Linked DNA regions of Homo sapiens: regions 2, 3, 4 and 5 are each linked to region 1. Evidence: promoter capture Hi-C in human tissues and cell types (Jung and others, 2019). All regions are on one chromosome and are shown on one strand. Each heading gives the region's core, a stretch centred on a gene start or on the middle of the fragment in contact. The rest is flanking DNA. Distances are from core to core; before and after follow the strand shown. Region 1 holds the start of PAFAH1B1 (platelet activating factor acetylhydrolase 1b regulatory subunit 1). Region 2 has its middle 5.0 kb from the start of CCDC92B. Region 3 overlaps LOC284009 (a long non-coding RNA gene). Region 4 overlaps MNT (MAX network transcriptional repressor). Region 5 overlaps SGSM2 (small G protein signaling modulator 2).

Region 1 (2,707 bases), core at 56-2,555:
TGCTCTCTCCTACTAAATACGGAAAACCTCTTCCCCTCTACTGCTACGTTTAGAGGTGCAGAGTCAAAATGTGTCGACCACCTCAAAGGCATTTTCTCATGTGGGAGGCTAAAGAGGGTAAATATGCAGAGGCACTGCGTTTCCCAAAGGGGCAGGGAGATGAGATTAGACGAAGGGGAATGGCAGGGAGCCTCGAAGCTGAATGTTAACAGCATCAAAAGGCAACTCCCGACCGAGGAGCCGGTGGCAGAAAGAAAATCCTGCCAGATTCGGTGGGTGGATGCTGCGGATTGCTCGGTGGGCCGGGCTGCCTCTCCTCGGCGGGTGCTGAGGCTGGACCGCCGCACCGGGGGCCAGGGAGACGGTGGGCCACCCTCCGCTGGTCAACCCCATCTTAAGGACCAGTCGGGGACGGAATGCCTGGAAGGCCCTATGAGTGCCCCGGCGGCGCGGGGCTGAGCCGGTCCCCGAGCCGATAACTGAGGGTGGGGTGGGGACTGCGGTGCTCGTCTCCGCGGCCGGGGAGAGCAGGGCCGATCCTTTTCCCCAAGATCAGAGAGCTACCTGGTCCCCACGCCCTTCCAACCCAAGAATACTTTTCTTGCTAAGTCACCGAGGGAGGAGGGCGATCCCTTCTTGGGGAGGGCCGCGGGGCGGGGGTCGCAGAGGCGCCGGCAGCCCCCAAAGCCGGGCCCGGGAGGAGAGGAGCGAGGGCAGCGCCCTCCCCGGACAGTCCCCCTCCTCCGGGTCTCTCACTCAACGGCCGTCGCGGCCGCCATTTTGAGAGCGAGGAGAGAAGAAGAAGGAGGAGGCGGCGGCGGAGGCAGGGGGAGGGGAGAATGGGAGGGAGGGGACCGGCGCAGCCACATCGTCAGGCCGCCGGGTCCGGCCTGCAGCCGCCCGGGCGCGGTGGAGGAGACAGAGGGGAGGGCGCAGACCCGCGCCGCCTTACCGGAGCGCTGCACCGCCGCCTCCGCAGGGCCTCTTCCGTCCTTCACTCCCATCCACCGGCGGGGGAGGGGGAGGGAGAGGGGAGGGAGGAAGGAGGGAGGGAGGGAAGGAGGGGGGAGGATGGCGCGCTGGGCCCGGGCCCGGGGAGGGGGAGGGGAGGGGAGCGGGCGGGCTCCTCAGCCGTTCCGGGGCTCGAGTCCAAGCTCGGCGCTCGCGGTTTCTCTCGCTCGCGCCCGAGCGCTCCCCTCCTTCTCCTTCTCGCTCCCTAGACTCCCGTGTCGCTGCTCCTCCGCTCGCTCACTCGCTCTCCCGGCCGCCGGACTCCGCCGCCGCCCCGCCGCTCCAGCTCCGTCTGTCACAGGAGCTGCCCCAACGCCCTGACGTCACCGCGCCGCCGCCGCCGCCGCCGCCGCCGCCCCAGACCCGCCAGGAAGAGGGAGGGGCGGGCGCCGGGAGCGGAGGAGGGGCTGCGGCGCATGCGCCGGGCTGGGCCGGGCCGGGGCCGCGCTGCCTTCTAGCGGGCGGGCGGCTGAGCGGTGCCACCCGGCCGGCGGGCGAGTCTGCGTGCGAGGTGCTGCTTCTCACGCTCCGCACGCTTCTGTTAACCTTGGGAGAGGCTCTTTTTTCCCAGCCCCTCGTCTGACTTGCGGCCCCTTCTGAACTCTGGCTCTGCTCACCTCGCTGCCCTGCTTTTGCGCTCATGCGGCCGACCGCGGCGTCCCGTTGGCACCGTGTGTGGCGGGCCCCGGGAGGCGCGAGAGGCAGCGGGGCCCGGCCACCTACCGCCCCTTTCTGCCTCCGGCCTCCGAGATGATTTCCCAGTTTGGGGGGGAATGAGGGAGGGGAGTAGGCTGGCTGGCTTGGGAGGAGGAGCTGTTGAGGTTAAAAGGCAGATGGAATGCTGTCATTGTCTTGATTTGTATTATAGATTCTTAATTGGGAGGACTCGCTTTTGGATATGATTCAGCTATTCTTCTCCTTAGTCACACACAGACATCAGAGTCTCTCCAGGTCTCGAAACGGATGCCCAAAGAAAGGCCTGGAACTGTATCCCTATAAGGGATGTCTGTGTGTGTTTGCTAAATTATGGATTGAAATATTGATGACAAGAGTCGTCTTGGGGATTTGTAGTTAATTTATTCCACACAGATACCTATGATTTTTCTTTTCTTTTCCTTTTTTTTTTTTTTTTTTTTTTGAGACGGAGTCTCGCTGTGTCGCCCAGGCTGGAGTGCAGTGGCGCGATCTCGGCTCACTGCAACCTCCGCCTCCCGAGTTCAAGCGATTCTCTGCATCAGCCTCCCGAGTAGCTGGGAGTACAGGCACTTGCCACCACGCCCAGCTAATTTTTGTTTTTTGTTTTTGTTTTTGTTTTTGAGATGGAGTCTCGCTCTGTCGCCCAGGCTGGAGTGCAGTGGTGCAATCTCCACTCACTGCAGGCTCCGCCTCCCGGGTTCACGCCATTCTCCTGCCTCAGCCTCCCGAGTAGCTGGGACCACAGGCGCCCACCACCACGCCCGGCTAATTTTTTTGGTATTTTTAGTAGAGACGGGGTTTCATCATGTTGGCCCGGATGGTCTCGATCCCTTGACCTCGTGATCCGCCCGCCTCTGCCTCCCAAAGTGCTGGGATTACAGGCGTGAGCCACCGTGCTCAGCCGACCCTTGATTTTTAAAAAGCGAGATTTGGGGTTCTGAATAATTCAATATGGGCTATTATTTTAATAACAGGTTTAAATGAGATTATCTTATCATTC
Region 2 (2,984 bases), core at 137-2,636, 160 kb before region 1:
CAGAAGGAACGGAGGGAGGCACAAATGGGAAACCTGAAGGGGGCGAAGGGGAAGGCGGAAGCCCCGTGCGAGCGTGAAAGGTGAAGTGCAGGGAAAGGGCGCCCCCGCGGGAGGGGGACGGGGTTCCCCCAAAGCCTGACGGCTCGCACAGGGTCCCCGTCGCCCATCTCTTTGGAGAGCCGCAGAGACCCGGCGCGGGGACGCGGGGTGGTGGGGACCGGAGGGGGTGGTGGGGACCAGGCAGCCGGCGCCCCTCCGCCCACCCGGGCCCCGCAGCCTCAGCCCGGGACGAAACTTTGGGCCCGCGCCCCGCTGCTTCCCGCGCCGGCCGGGCCTCGGGGTTCGCTCCCGCATTAGGCCCCGCGCCGCCCGGCGCCCACTCACCAGCGCACCAGCTGCCAGCGCTTCTCCCCCGGCGCCCGGCGGCCCGCCATGCCTCGCCCGGCCGCTCCCTGCCCTCCGCGGGCCGCACGGTGGAGGAGGCTCGGCTGCCGCAGGCGGGTGTCCGGGGCGCGCTCGCGGGGAGGGCGCGGGGAGGGCGCGGGGAGGGCGCGGGGAGGGCGCGGCGCTCAGACCCCGCCCCTGGAGGCGGCTGGAGCCGGGTCAGCGCCGGCCCCGCAGAACGGGCGGGACAGCGGCCTCTCCCCGTCCGGGTCTCTCCCCGCCGCGCCGAGGAGCCGGGTTTCTGGGGAGCACTGGGCGGAGTCTGGTTCCCCGAGTCCTACTGACGCGCGGAGAGACCAGGCGGCCCATTGCCTCGTTCTGTGCCTTACTCCCTTAGGAAACCCGTTCTACCCAGGAAGTGATGCCTAAAGAAGTAAACTACTCGGCCGGGCGCGGTGGCTCACGCCTGTAATCCCAGCGCTTTGGGAGGCGGAGGTGGGCGGATCACGAGGTCAAGACGATCGAGACCAACCTGGCCAACATGGTGAAACCCCGTCTCTACTAAAAATAGAAAACTTAGCGGGGCGTGGTGGCGCCTGCCTGTAATCCCAGCTACTCGGGAGGCTGAGGCAGGAGAATCGCTTGAACCGGGGAGGCGGAGGTTGCAGTGAGCAGAGGTCGCGCCATTGCACTCCAGCCTGGGCAACAGGGCAAGACTGTCTCAAAAAAAAAAAAAAAAAAAAAAAAAGAAAGAAAAGAAAAAAACGTGGATAAGTATTGTCATTATATTAAAGTGAGGATAGGTTTTTTTTTTTTAGCATGACATCAGTGGCAGAAGCCATAAAGGAAGAGATTAATGGATTTGGCTAAAATAAAAATGTTTAATATCTGCACATCACAAAAACACAATAAGCAAAATTAAAAGGCTAATGTCAGCCAGGTGTGGTGGTATATGCCTGTAGTCCCAGCTACTTAGGAGTCTGAGGCAGGAGGATCACTTGAGCCAGGAGTTCAAGTCTGTTGAGTGCTATAAACATACCTGGGAATAGCCGCTGCCACTCCAGCCTGGGCAACATAGCAAGACCCGGTCTCTAAATATATATATAAAATATATATATATATATATGTCAAATGTCAAACTGGTTTAAAAAATGTGTGCCCCATGCGTGGTGGCTCATGCCTGTAATCCCAGCACTTTGGGAGGCCGAGGCAGGTGGATCACGAGGTCAGGAGATGGAGACCATCCTGGCCAACATGGTGAAACCCCCTCTCTACTAAAAATACAAAAAATTAGCCGTGCGTGGTGGCGGGCGCCTGTAGTCCCAGCTACTCGGAAGGCTGAGGCAGGAGAATGGCGTGAACCTGGGAGGCAGAGGGCAGAGCTTGCAGCGAGCCGAGATCGCGCCACTGCACTCCAGCCTGGGCGACAGTGCGAGACTCCGTCTCAAGAAAAAAAAAAGAAAAGAAAAGAAAGTGTGCCCCGTGTTCATGGCAGCATTATTCACAATAGCCAACAGGTGGAAGCAACCTAAATGTTCACTGATGGATGAATGGATAAACAAAATGTGGTATATATATATACGGCCGGGCGCGGTGGCTCACGCCTGTAATCCTAGCACTTTGGGAGGCCGAGGCGGGCAGATCACGAGGTCAGGAGATCGAGACCATCCTGGCCAATATGGTAAAACCCCATCTCTACTAAAAAATACAAAAATTAGCCTCCACCTCCTGGATTCAAGCGATTCTCCTGCCTCAGCCTCCCGAGTAGCTGGGATTACAAGCACCCACCACCACACCTGGCTAATTTTTGTATTTTTAGTAGAGACGAGATTTCGTCATGTTGGCCAGGCTGGTCTCAAACTCCTGACCGCAAGTGATCTGCCCACCTTGGCCTCCCAAAGTGCTGGGATTACAGGTGAGAGCCACCGGGCCCAGCCAAATTGTCCATTTTAAATGTGCCATCTGTTCCCTGCCAGGATGCTAACCAATACAGAACTGTTACCCAAACTAAACTGAGAAAGTCAGAATTTCTGACTGTCATGAAGAGATGGAGGAGACTCTAGGCCTTCTCTGCCACCCAGGCCTCATTCCTCTAGCTGGCATTCCAGGCCTTGCACACTTTGGCCCTTACCTTCCCTTTAAGCTATGACCACTGTGGCTGCCACAGCTGGACTCATGTTCTCTCTGGCAGGCGTGAGGATGCTGTGGTTACAAGCTTGTCTCTGGGCCAGGCTGGGCTGGAGTTTGAATCCTGGCTCTGCCATTTCCAAGCTGTGTGATGTTAAATTCAACCTCATTCTCTCCATCTGAAAATGGGAATAAACCTTTCCAATACGATTTATCTGAAGTTTAAATGAGATCCCATTGGTAAAGTGCTCAACTCAAAGTAATCGTGGCTTCGGAAGCAAGAGGTACACTTTTTCTAAACTTTAGTTTTCTTTTACTTTGTTACAAGTTTAATTTTGGAAATGGAGCCAGGGTGTGGCACCGTGGCTAATCCCAGCAAAGCGCTGTCATCTCAGCACTTTGGGAGGCCAAGGCAGGTAGATCACTTGAGCCCAGGAGTTCAAGATCAGCCTGGGCAACAGGGTGAAACCCCA
Region 3 (2,794 bases), core at 96-2,595, 190 kb after region 1:
ATCTGCTCTGGGCTGTGCAGCCAGTGACCGGCCACTGCTCTCGGCCTTGCCTCCAGAGAGAGCCTCATTCCTGGCATAGGCTGCTGATCTCTTGGGCTTTCAAGACTTGATGCTACAGCCTTGCATTTGGGTGTGAACTGGGGCTGCTGGGATATAGACCTTAGTCCTTTGTGTGGGGCACTGATCACATTGCAGCCCGTCGGTCCTGGGAGGTTTCTTCCCTATCACCATGTCCCCACCCCTGCGTGATCCAGCGGACTCTTGACTCCCATGGCAAGACTCCACCCGGCTTTACTCATAACTTCTGCCCAGTCCCACTCCCTTGACCTGAATTAGTTTTGCTGTCATAAAGCCACCTCTTTTTTCCTTTAAAGGAATCCCTGACATCGTCATCCGTCTCCTGTGCCTTTCCGCTGGGTCAGCCTCCTCCCACCAAGCTTCTGACCCACTGTCATCCGCAGCTGCCACTCTAGCTGCAGAGCTCGACTGGGCTCTGGTTTCTCAGAAGAGCTCAGAGGACCTGGCTCCTCCCTCTTTGCTTCTGAACTGCATTTCTTTCCTTATTACTCAGTGTCCACACCCACGGTGGCTGCCTGGATAAAAATCTGCCCCTTTCTCCCGTCACCTTTCATGCCAGACAAAAGCCCCAGTGAGTAATGGTGACCTACCCAGGTCCAGCTAGCAGCTCTCCATTCCTGAGTGGCCTGGGGCAGAACAGGGTCCTGCGAGCTCCTGGATCCCAAGTCTGATTCCCTTTCCCTGTCTTCCCGCTTATCTGCTAAGCTTGTTTATTGGGGACCACTAAGCAAAGTGAATGATTATTCCTGTCTTTAACGAGGAGGGGTGGAGTTCCCTCTCCATCTTCACCCACTTCTGGGAGGCTTTCAGGGACTCAACACCCCACACTGATAGCACTTCCCCAGGCCTGGCCCAGCCAGCCAAAGAGGAGGACCAGGCCACTTCTCAACCTAGCTGATGCTTGGCAGCTTTGTGACCTTGGATACACCTTCTCTTGGGAGGTCAGACCCCATGATCCCAGCTCTTCCAGCTATGACATCATGTGAGGCTGCAATTTTTTTTTTTTTTTTTTTGAGACAGTATCTTGCTATGTTGCCCAGGCTGGCCTTGAAATCCTGGGCTCAGGCGATTCTCCTGTCTCAGCCTCCCACGTAGCTGGAACTTAGGGCGTGAGCCACCGCGCCCAGCTTCTGGAAAGGACATGAATGGGGAGGTGGAACTTGATTGGACCTGTTCTGTGAGTTCAGGAGAGGTCCTCTGACAACTCACTTGGGGTGGGGAAAGGAGGTAAAGAGTCCTGTGGAAACTTTTGGCTGTGGGGACCCCATTTCACTGATGATTGAATGGGTCCACCTCTGTCAAAGGAATTCAGAGTCCCACTCATCATTCAGACTGGGGGAATCAGGCTCAGTTGACTGGCCCAGCCTTAAATCCACTGAATTTGTTTTTATCTCTACATAGAAAAACGGAATTACAGTTGCTTCTCACTGTCCAATGGGGATTGGTTCCTGGAGCCTCCCTGAATACCTGTCCATGGATGATGCTCAAATCCCTTACATGTAACCTATGCACATCCTCAGGTATCCTTTAACTCATCTCTGCGCTACTCAAATACCTCATACCATGTAAATGCTGTGTAAATAGTTCTTGTGCTGTGTTGGTTTTTAAATTTGTATTATTTTTTCTTGTATATTTTCCATTTTTTTTTCCTGAATATTTTTGATCCACGGTTAGTTGCCTCCATGGGTGCGGACCCACGGACACGGAGGCTGCACCTTCTGAAATGAGCATGGCGGCGCCCTCTGGGTCCTCGTGTCGTCCTGTCTCTGGTGCTGCATCCAGCACGGTGGCGAACAGCAGAACTAATCTTTTGCAAGTTATCACAGTGGAGTGGAGTTCCGCTCTGTTTGCTTTTGCCCCGCTCTGGCTTACCAGAGGTCCCCTGGCCTTGGCCACAGCATACCTAGCCTAGTGCTTGGCACCTCAGGCACACAATAAATATTTATGAAATGGATCTTCTCTGGTATGTCTTGAGTGTACTAGTCTTCTGTTTTTTCCTCTTCATCCTGCAGCCAGCTTCCTCCCATGGGTCTTGTTTTAATGATGGTATGTGAAAAGCTCCTTAGCTGCTTGCAAAAGATGAGACATCAGGCTTGAAGGGTTGGGATTTCCTGTGAACATCTGTACTTTCGGCTTCACGCCCTTTCCCCCATCTCATGACTCAGGCTTTGTAGGAGTCAGGGCACTGATTTTCATAGCTCTTGGAGTTGATACTTTGTTAGGTGAGTGGTGGGGGATAGGAAGACAGTTCCACTAAGGGGATGTCTCTGGCTCAGCATATTAAAAAATTGGGGAATTGGTGCTTCTTATTGTGGTTGGTGAAAAAAAGAATAAAAGATTAAAAAATTGGAGGACATAATGGAATTTGAACTGGGAGGTGGGGTGCACAAGACTCGGGGAGGAAGACTGAAAACGGAAACCCTCTCGTGAGAAACTCACAATGATGGACAGCCCAGCTTTTCTCCTGCTCCAAGGTACTAAGCACCCAGAAGCCATGAAGAAACTTAAGGAACAGCCGGGCGCGGTGGCTCACGCCTGTCATCCCAGCCCTTTGGGAGGCCAAGACAGGCAGATCACTTGAGGTCAGGAGTTTGAGACCAGCCTGGCCAACATGGTGAAACCCCGTCTCTACTAAAAATACAAAAATTAGCCGGGCGTGGTGGTGCGTGCTTGTAATCCCAGCTACTCCGGAGGCTGAGGCAGGAGAATCACTTGA
Region 4 (2,775 bases), core at 203-2,702, 210 kb after region 1:
AAGTGTGCAAAGTGAAGAGGCTGCTGGAGGAGGGATGGGGCGAGAGGCGGAGAAGCCCCTGAGGATGAATTGTGGAGGACAGGGAAGGACCTGCACACCTGGTTGAGCTTGCTTCAGTGGTGCCTGTCCCAAGAGCCCACACTCCTTGGGACGCTGGGCCTCACTGGGCAGGGGCATGGACCACAACAGGTGCGGTCTCCAGCAGCCCCCGTCAGGCTGGGCCCGCTGGTTGCCACGGACTTGCCTCTGTGGGCCAGCTGATAGGGAGAGGTTTGTGGGGGCTTTGGGCCCCAAGGCTGCTGCTCAGGGTGTCCTGCTGTCCCTTACTCTGTGTGCCAGTCCCTGAAGAGGAAGGAGAAGGAATATGAGCATGAAATGGAGCGGCTGGCACGTGAGAAGATTGCCACGCAGCAGCGGCTGGCAGAGCTCAAGCACGAGCTGAGCCAGTGGATGGACGTACTGGAGATTGACCGCGTGCTGCGGCAGACGGGCCAGCCCGAGGATGACCAGGCCTCCACCTCCACCGCCTCTGGTGAGCCCCAGCCCCCACGCTGGCCCCCCAGCCCTCAGATGTTACACCTCAAATTCCAGCCTCCCTGGCCAGGCTCTTTCTTGCCTGCTAGAAAAGATGGCCCTGGCCCCAGCCCCATCACATTCCCACGCCCCCACGAGCATCTACGCCTCCAGCCACTTGCTTCCCCGCCCTTCTGACCTGCTCCCTGCCCCATGTTCCCCACAGAGGGTGAGGACAACATAGACGAGGATATGGAGGAGGACCGGGCGGGCCTGGGCCCACCTAAGCTGAGCCATCGTCCCCAGCCGGAGCTGCTGAAGTCCACCCTGCCACCCCCCAGCACCACCCCTGCGCCTCTGCCTCCACACCCACACCCTCACCCCCACTCCGTGGCCCTACCTCCTGCCCACCTCCCCGTGCAGCAGCAGCAGCCACAGCAGAAGACCCCTCTGCCAGCCCCTCCTCCCCCACCGGCTGCCCCTGCCCAGACACTGGTGCCAGCTCCAGCCCATCTGGTGGCGACGGCTGGGGGTGGCTCCACGGTCATCGCCCACACAGCCACCACTCACGCTTCAGTCATCCAGACTGTGAACCACGTTCTGCAGGGGCCAGGCGGCAAGCACATCGCCCACATCGCCCCCTCGGCCCCCAGCCCTGCGGTGCAACTGGCGCCTGCCACACCCCCCATTGGGCACATCACTGTGCACCCTGCCACCCTCAACCATGTGGCCCACCTGGGCTCCCAGCTGCCCTTGTACCCGCAGCCCGTGGCAGTGAGCCACATCGCCCACACCCTCTCGCACCAGCAAGTCAACGGCACGGCCGGCCTGGGGCCCCCGGCTACTGTCATGGCAAAGCCGGCCGTGGGGGCTCAGGTGGTGCACCACCCCCAGCTGGTGGGCCAGACCGTGCTCAACCCTGTGACCATGGTCACCATGCCCTCCTTCCCAGTCAGCACACTCAAGCTGGCTTGAGGACGAGGCCACTCAGAGGCCCCCAGTGGGGACAGGGAGGGGGACCTGTCCCCCACTCTCTCACCCACCAGCTCCACACATTCCAGCCAGGCCCAGGCCAGCCCCCCCACCCACCCCCAGGCCTCCTAGGGGAAGGGGGTGCAAAGACTCTGAGCCAAGGGAGGGAAGGGCCACCCTGCTGCACTAGGACTTGGTAAGATGACTCTGAGAAAATGCGAGACTCTGATGGAATGTGCCACCTGTCCGGCCCAGTGCCAGCTCCAGTGCCGCTCCTGCTTCCCCTCCCTACCCTCGGAAATCAGTGCGATGTGGACGTCACGCTCCCTGACTTCTCCCCCGCCCTGCCCCGCCTTCGTGTGCTGCTGCTGCTATTGCTGTCTGGTGAGGTGGCCCAGGCCCCCGGCTTTCCTCCGGAGCCTCATGTTCTCTTCCCAGGCCTTTGGAGGGGAAATGGGGAAAGCAGAACTGAAGCCACTTGGCCCAGAAAGCTGCGGATTGGGGTGATAAGGGGCCTTGCTCTGAGCACAGGTGACAGATCATAGGAAGTGGCTGGTCTGGAGTCCCACCCGGACAGGTGGGGCCTCAGCCTGGGGCTCTCTGACCCGGTTGCAGTCACTGTGATTCGTTACCGTAGATACTACTTAAAATGATTCTCTACCAACAATAAACCAAACCCAGCCACTGCCAAGCTTCCTGTGCCCTCACCCCAATCCCTGCCACTGGGCTCTGGACCTCAGGAGGGCAGGCTGAGGTGGGGAAGGAGGGACTTGGCTGTCCTTCCCCTTCCCCGTCCCCTGCAGCCTGGGTCTGGATGGGAGGAGAGCCACTGGGCCCCTGTCCCCAGTCCCCAGTCCCCAGCCCTGGGCTTGGCTCTTGGCTTCCAGAAGGCAGCAAAGAGGGGCGCTGTCCTGCGTTCAGCCCCTGATCTCTGACCTCTGCTGAGTGCTGGGCACTGCTCCAAGGGACAGGTGGGCCTGGCGGCCTGTGGGTTTGGGTGCCTCCTGCAGTTTGGGAGACATGGACCAGCATCTGGTCTTGTTTCCAGGAGCATAGAAGCCACATCGTTGAGACATCAGGAAGGTAAAAACCCAGCGGCTTAGCCAAGCCCTAAGCCTGTCCCCAGACCAACCCTGGGACCTATACAGAACAGAGGGCCAGAGCTAGGGCTGCTGCTTCTGCTCCAGCCCCTTTGCCTCTGTCCTCCCATCCCCTCAACACCCTGCTTCTCCCGGGGACGCTTTTGAGTGGGCCCTGCCCGGGGAGCTGCAGAGCAGCAGCACCTTTCTC
Region 5 (2,802 bases), core at 17-2,516, 230 kb after region 1:
GACGGGGGAGCAGGAAGAAAAGCTCCTCTTCCCCATACCTGTGGTGAGGCAAGGGGTAAGGGCAAGCCAAGGGCAGGCCAGGGAGATACCCTGGCTTCCTTCCAAAATTCCCCTCCCCGTCCCTCGGCTCCTGCCCGGGGCGAAGAGCTTTGACATGCCAAGCTGTCCCTCTCCCTCGCCTGGTGCGCACACACCTCCTATATGCAGCCTCACCCCTGGGGGTCATGAGGACCAAAGCTCCCCATTCAGGGTGGCATGAGTGGCTCCAAACCTGACAGCAAGGCACAGCACCTACAGGACGGGGATGTGAGGAACACCCGACTCGGGAGCCTTTCTGGAGGGCACGGAGGATGCGGTTGCTAAGGAACAGGGCTCTGCAGGAGCTAAAATATTGATGAAGTCACTGCAGAGCTTGGACCCGACAGTGGCCGCTGGACTGATGAGCCCAGCAGCTGAGGGAGAGATTTCTCTTTTCCATGCTAGGAGGGCTTCCCTCCATTCATTCATGGTTTAGGGTTAGGCTTAGTCTCTGTCTGGACTTTCCACAGACAGACCCTGCAGGAAGAAAAGAAGGGCTTGGTAGGAGACAGTAGGGAGCTGCCCTGTGCCCAGACAGACTCTAAAGACAGGAGTGTGTATGTGTGTGGGGCGGAGAAGCTTCTACATGATTGGGCCAAACTAACAGTTTTACAGGTGAGGAGGGAAAGGCCCAAAGAGGGGAAGAAACTCGATCACAGTCACAACATGGCAGAGCCACCAGGATGAGGACCCAGGGCTCCAAGCCTCGGCCCGAGCCCCTTTTGCCACGTCCAGGTGTGTCTGGTTGGGGGCAGGGACACTGAGGGGAGAAGGAGGTGGTTTTTTCACACGGACTGGAAACAGTGAGCTGTGCTGGAGACAGTCAGACAGAACAAAGTCTGAGCTTGGCACGGTCACTTGCTCTGAGACTCAGTTGTATCCTCTGTGAAATGGGAAGAGGGCTAGTGTGAGATGTCACATGAGACGGAGGATGTGAAATCACCCATGCGGGGTCTGGCTCTCAGGAGGTGCTGGGTCTAGGTCAGTTCCTGACTCCTCACCCTGTTGGTTCAGATACAGTTCTACAGCTAGCCTCTAAGAGCTGGCTTTCAGCAGGACCTCTCCCCGACAGGGACAGGAAGAGGGTGCACTGGAGAGACGATCCAAGGCTGCCCCAGAAGTGGGTGGAGACAGGGAAATTGAGGTCTGTCAAGGTTTTTTTATTTTTATTTTTGAGACAGGGACCCACTCTGATGCCCAGGCTGGAGTGCAATCGTGGAATCTCAGCTCACAGCAGCTGAGAGCTGACCTCTGTGGTTCAGGTGATTCTCCCGCCTCAGCCTCCCGAGTAGCTGAGACTACAGGCACACACCACCATGCCCAGCTAATTTTTGTATTTTAGTAGAGACGGGGTTTCGCCACGTTGGCCAGGCTGGTCTCGAACTCCTGACCTCAAGTGATCCGCCCGCCTCGGCCTCTCAAAGTGCTGGGATTACAGGCGTGAGGCACCGCGCCCGGCCCACATGGGGAAATCTTTGGCTTAAGCGTCCACATGCTCCTCTCCATGATCATTCCCCCTGGTCCCTGGAGGTCTTGTGTGGCCCTGGGATATACAGGCGAATGACCCTTTTGTCCCAGTCTCTTGGTCCTGGGCTGCTGCAGCTACAATTCCGTGCCTGTGGAAAGGGGGTGATCATTTCCTGGGGTTGCACTTCCCATTCAGAGTGGGGAGAGAAGCAGCACTGAACAGGACAGAGGGGCAGCAGGTGGCACATGTCCTGCACGGATCACATGCCTCAGTGGTGTGATTAATTGCCGGGATAATGAGTCATTCGCTTCCCCACCTTCCCTAGGCGACCGCAAAAGCAGCCAGGCCGTGGGGACTGGGGAGTGGCCGGCCCCAGCACTCCCATCGGGGTGGCCTCGCCTACCTTCCCGGCCAGCCTCTGAGCACAGCCATGGGGTTCTCTCGGGTGAGAGGAGGCATTCCTAAGCAATTACTGCAACTAAGGAATACTGAGAGAAGCCAGGCATCACGCTCAGTCCCCCCTTTACCCCACGGTCCCTAATTTCCTTCTGTGCAACCCAGGCAAGGTGCCAGGCAGTGTCTGGGGAAGGAGAAATCCCTCTCATGCATCGACTTTCCAAGCTAAGACCAGTTAGGCCATTAGGCCAGGCATTACTGACTCAGCTCTGTGGGCTCCCGGCCAGTAACTGTTCACACTGCACTTGTCCTATGCCATGCCCACAAGGTGTTCCCCACCGAGAGTGTGCACGTGTGATGAATATGTTATCGCGTGCAGTGTGCAGACAAAATAATAATAGTGACACCACTACTTGAGAACTATGGCCCCGAGAGGACTTTGTGAATGGGCTTCTGGGGCTCCAAAAACTCCCTCCCTGGGTCTGGGCGCCGTGGCTCACGCCTGTAATCCCAGCACTTTGGGAGGCCGAGGCAGGCGGATCATGAGGTCAGGAGATTGAGACCATCCTGGCTAACACGGTGAAATCCCATCTCTACTAAAAATACAAAAAATTAGCTGGGCGTGGTAGGGGGCACCTGAAGTCCCAGCTACCTGGGAGGCTGAGGTAGGAGAATCACTTGAACCTGGGAGGCAGAGGTTGCAGTGAGCCGAGATGGCGCCACTGCACTCCAGCCTGGGGGAACACAGCGAGACTTTGTCTCAAAAAAAAAAAAAAAAAAAAACAACAACAACAACAAAAAAGAGCCCCTCCCTGATATTGGGAGCAATTTGAATGCAAATTGTTGAGGTGCTCTAGAAT

What was found. Contacts are between HindIII fragments. The study calls those that stand out against the background at their distance.
Region 2: a fragment that was not itself captured here is called in contact with the fragment with the promoter of PAFAH1B1 in region 1 in 1 of the 25 tissues and cell types used here (bladder).
Region 3: a contact is called between a fragment that was not itself captured here and the fragment with the promoter of PAFAH1B1 in region 1, in 3 of the 25 tissues and cell types used here (H1 embryonic stem cells, adrenal gland and dorsolateral prefrontal cortex).
Region 4: a fragment that was not itself captured here is called in contact with the fragment with the promoter of PAFAH1B1 in region 1 in 1 of the 25 tissues and cell types used here (aorta).
Region 5: a fragment that was not itself captured here is called in contact with the fragment with the promoter of PAFAH1B1 in region 1 in 5 of the 25 tissues and cell types used here (IMR-90 fibroblasts, lymphoblastoid cells, mesendoderm cells and 2 more).

The regions. Positions count from the first base shown.
Region 1 is chr17:2,592,252-2,594,958 of GRCh38, reverse strand. It overlaps PAFAH1B1 (platelet activating factor acetylhydrolase 1b regulatory subunit 1), which reads right to left and starts at 1,305. Exons shown (of 11, transcript NM_000430.4): 1 at 953-1,305. RefSeq lists silencers at 457-506, 567-626, 1,037-1,266, 1,317-1,536 and an enhancer at 1,371-2,099. The HindIII fragment of the contact is 12,163 bases long and covers 1-2,707 here.
Region 2 is chr17:2,753,168-2,756,151 of GRCh38, reverse strand. It overlaps a transcript of RAP1GAP2 not described here. Among named protein-coding and RNA genes, the nearest start is that of CCDC92B, 5.0 kb to the right of the region's middle. RefSeq lists a silencer at 855-1,064. The HindIII fragment of the contact is 4,795 bases long and covers 1-2,984 here.
Region 3 is chr17:2,404,811-2,407,604 of GRCh38, reverse strand. It overlaps LOC284009 (a long non-coding RNA gene), which reads left to right. Exons shown (of 3, transcript NR_028335.1): 3 at 375-624. Among named protein-coding and RNA genes, the nearest start is that of MNT, 5.1 kb to the right of the region's middle. The HindIII fragment of the contact is 5,447 bases long and covers 1-2,794 here.
Region 4 is chr17:2,385,614-2,388,388 of GRCh38, reverse strand. MNT (MAX network transcriptional repressor) reads left to right here. Exons shown (of 6, transcript NM_020310.3): 5 at 340-532; 6 at 740-2,775. The coding sequence ends at 1,488. Among named protein-coding and RNA genes, the nearest start is that of MNT, 14 kb to the left of the region's middle. RefSeq lists enhancers at 1-54, 1,582-2,406. The HindIII fragment of the contact is 3,787 bases long and covers 1-2,775 here.
Region 5 is chr17:2,358,797-2,361,598 of GRCh38, reverse strand. All of the region lies in intron 2 of SGSM2 (small G protein signaling modulator 2), which reads right to left. Among named protein-coding and RNA genes, the nearest start is that of SGSM2, 23 kb to the right of the region's middle. The HindIII fragment of the contact is 3,883 bases long and covers 1-2,802 here.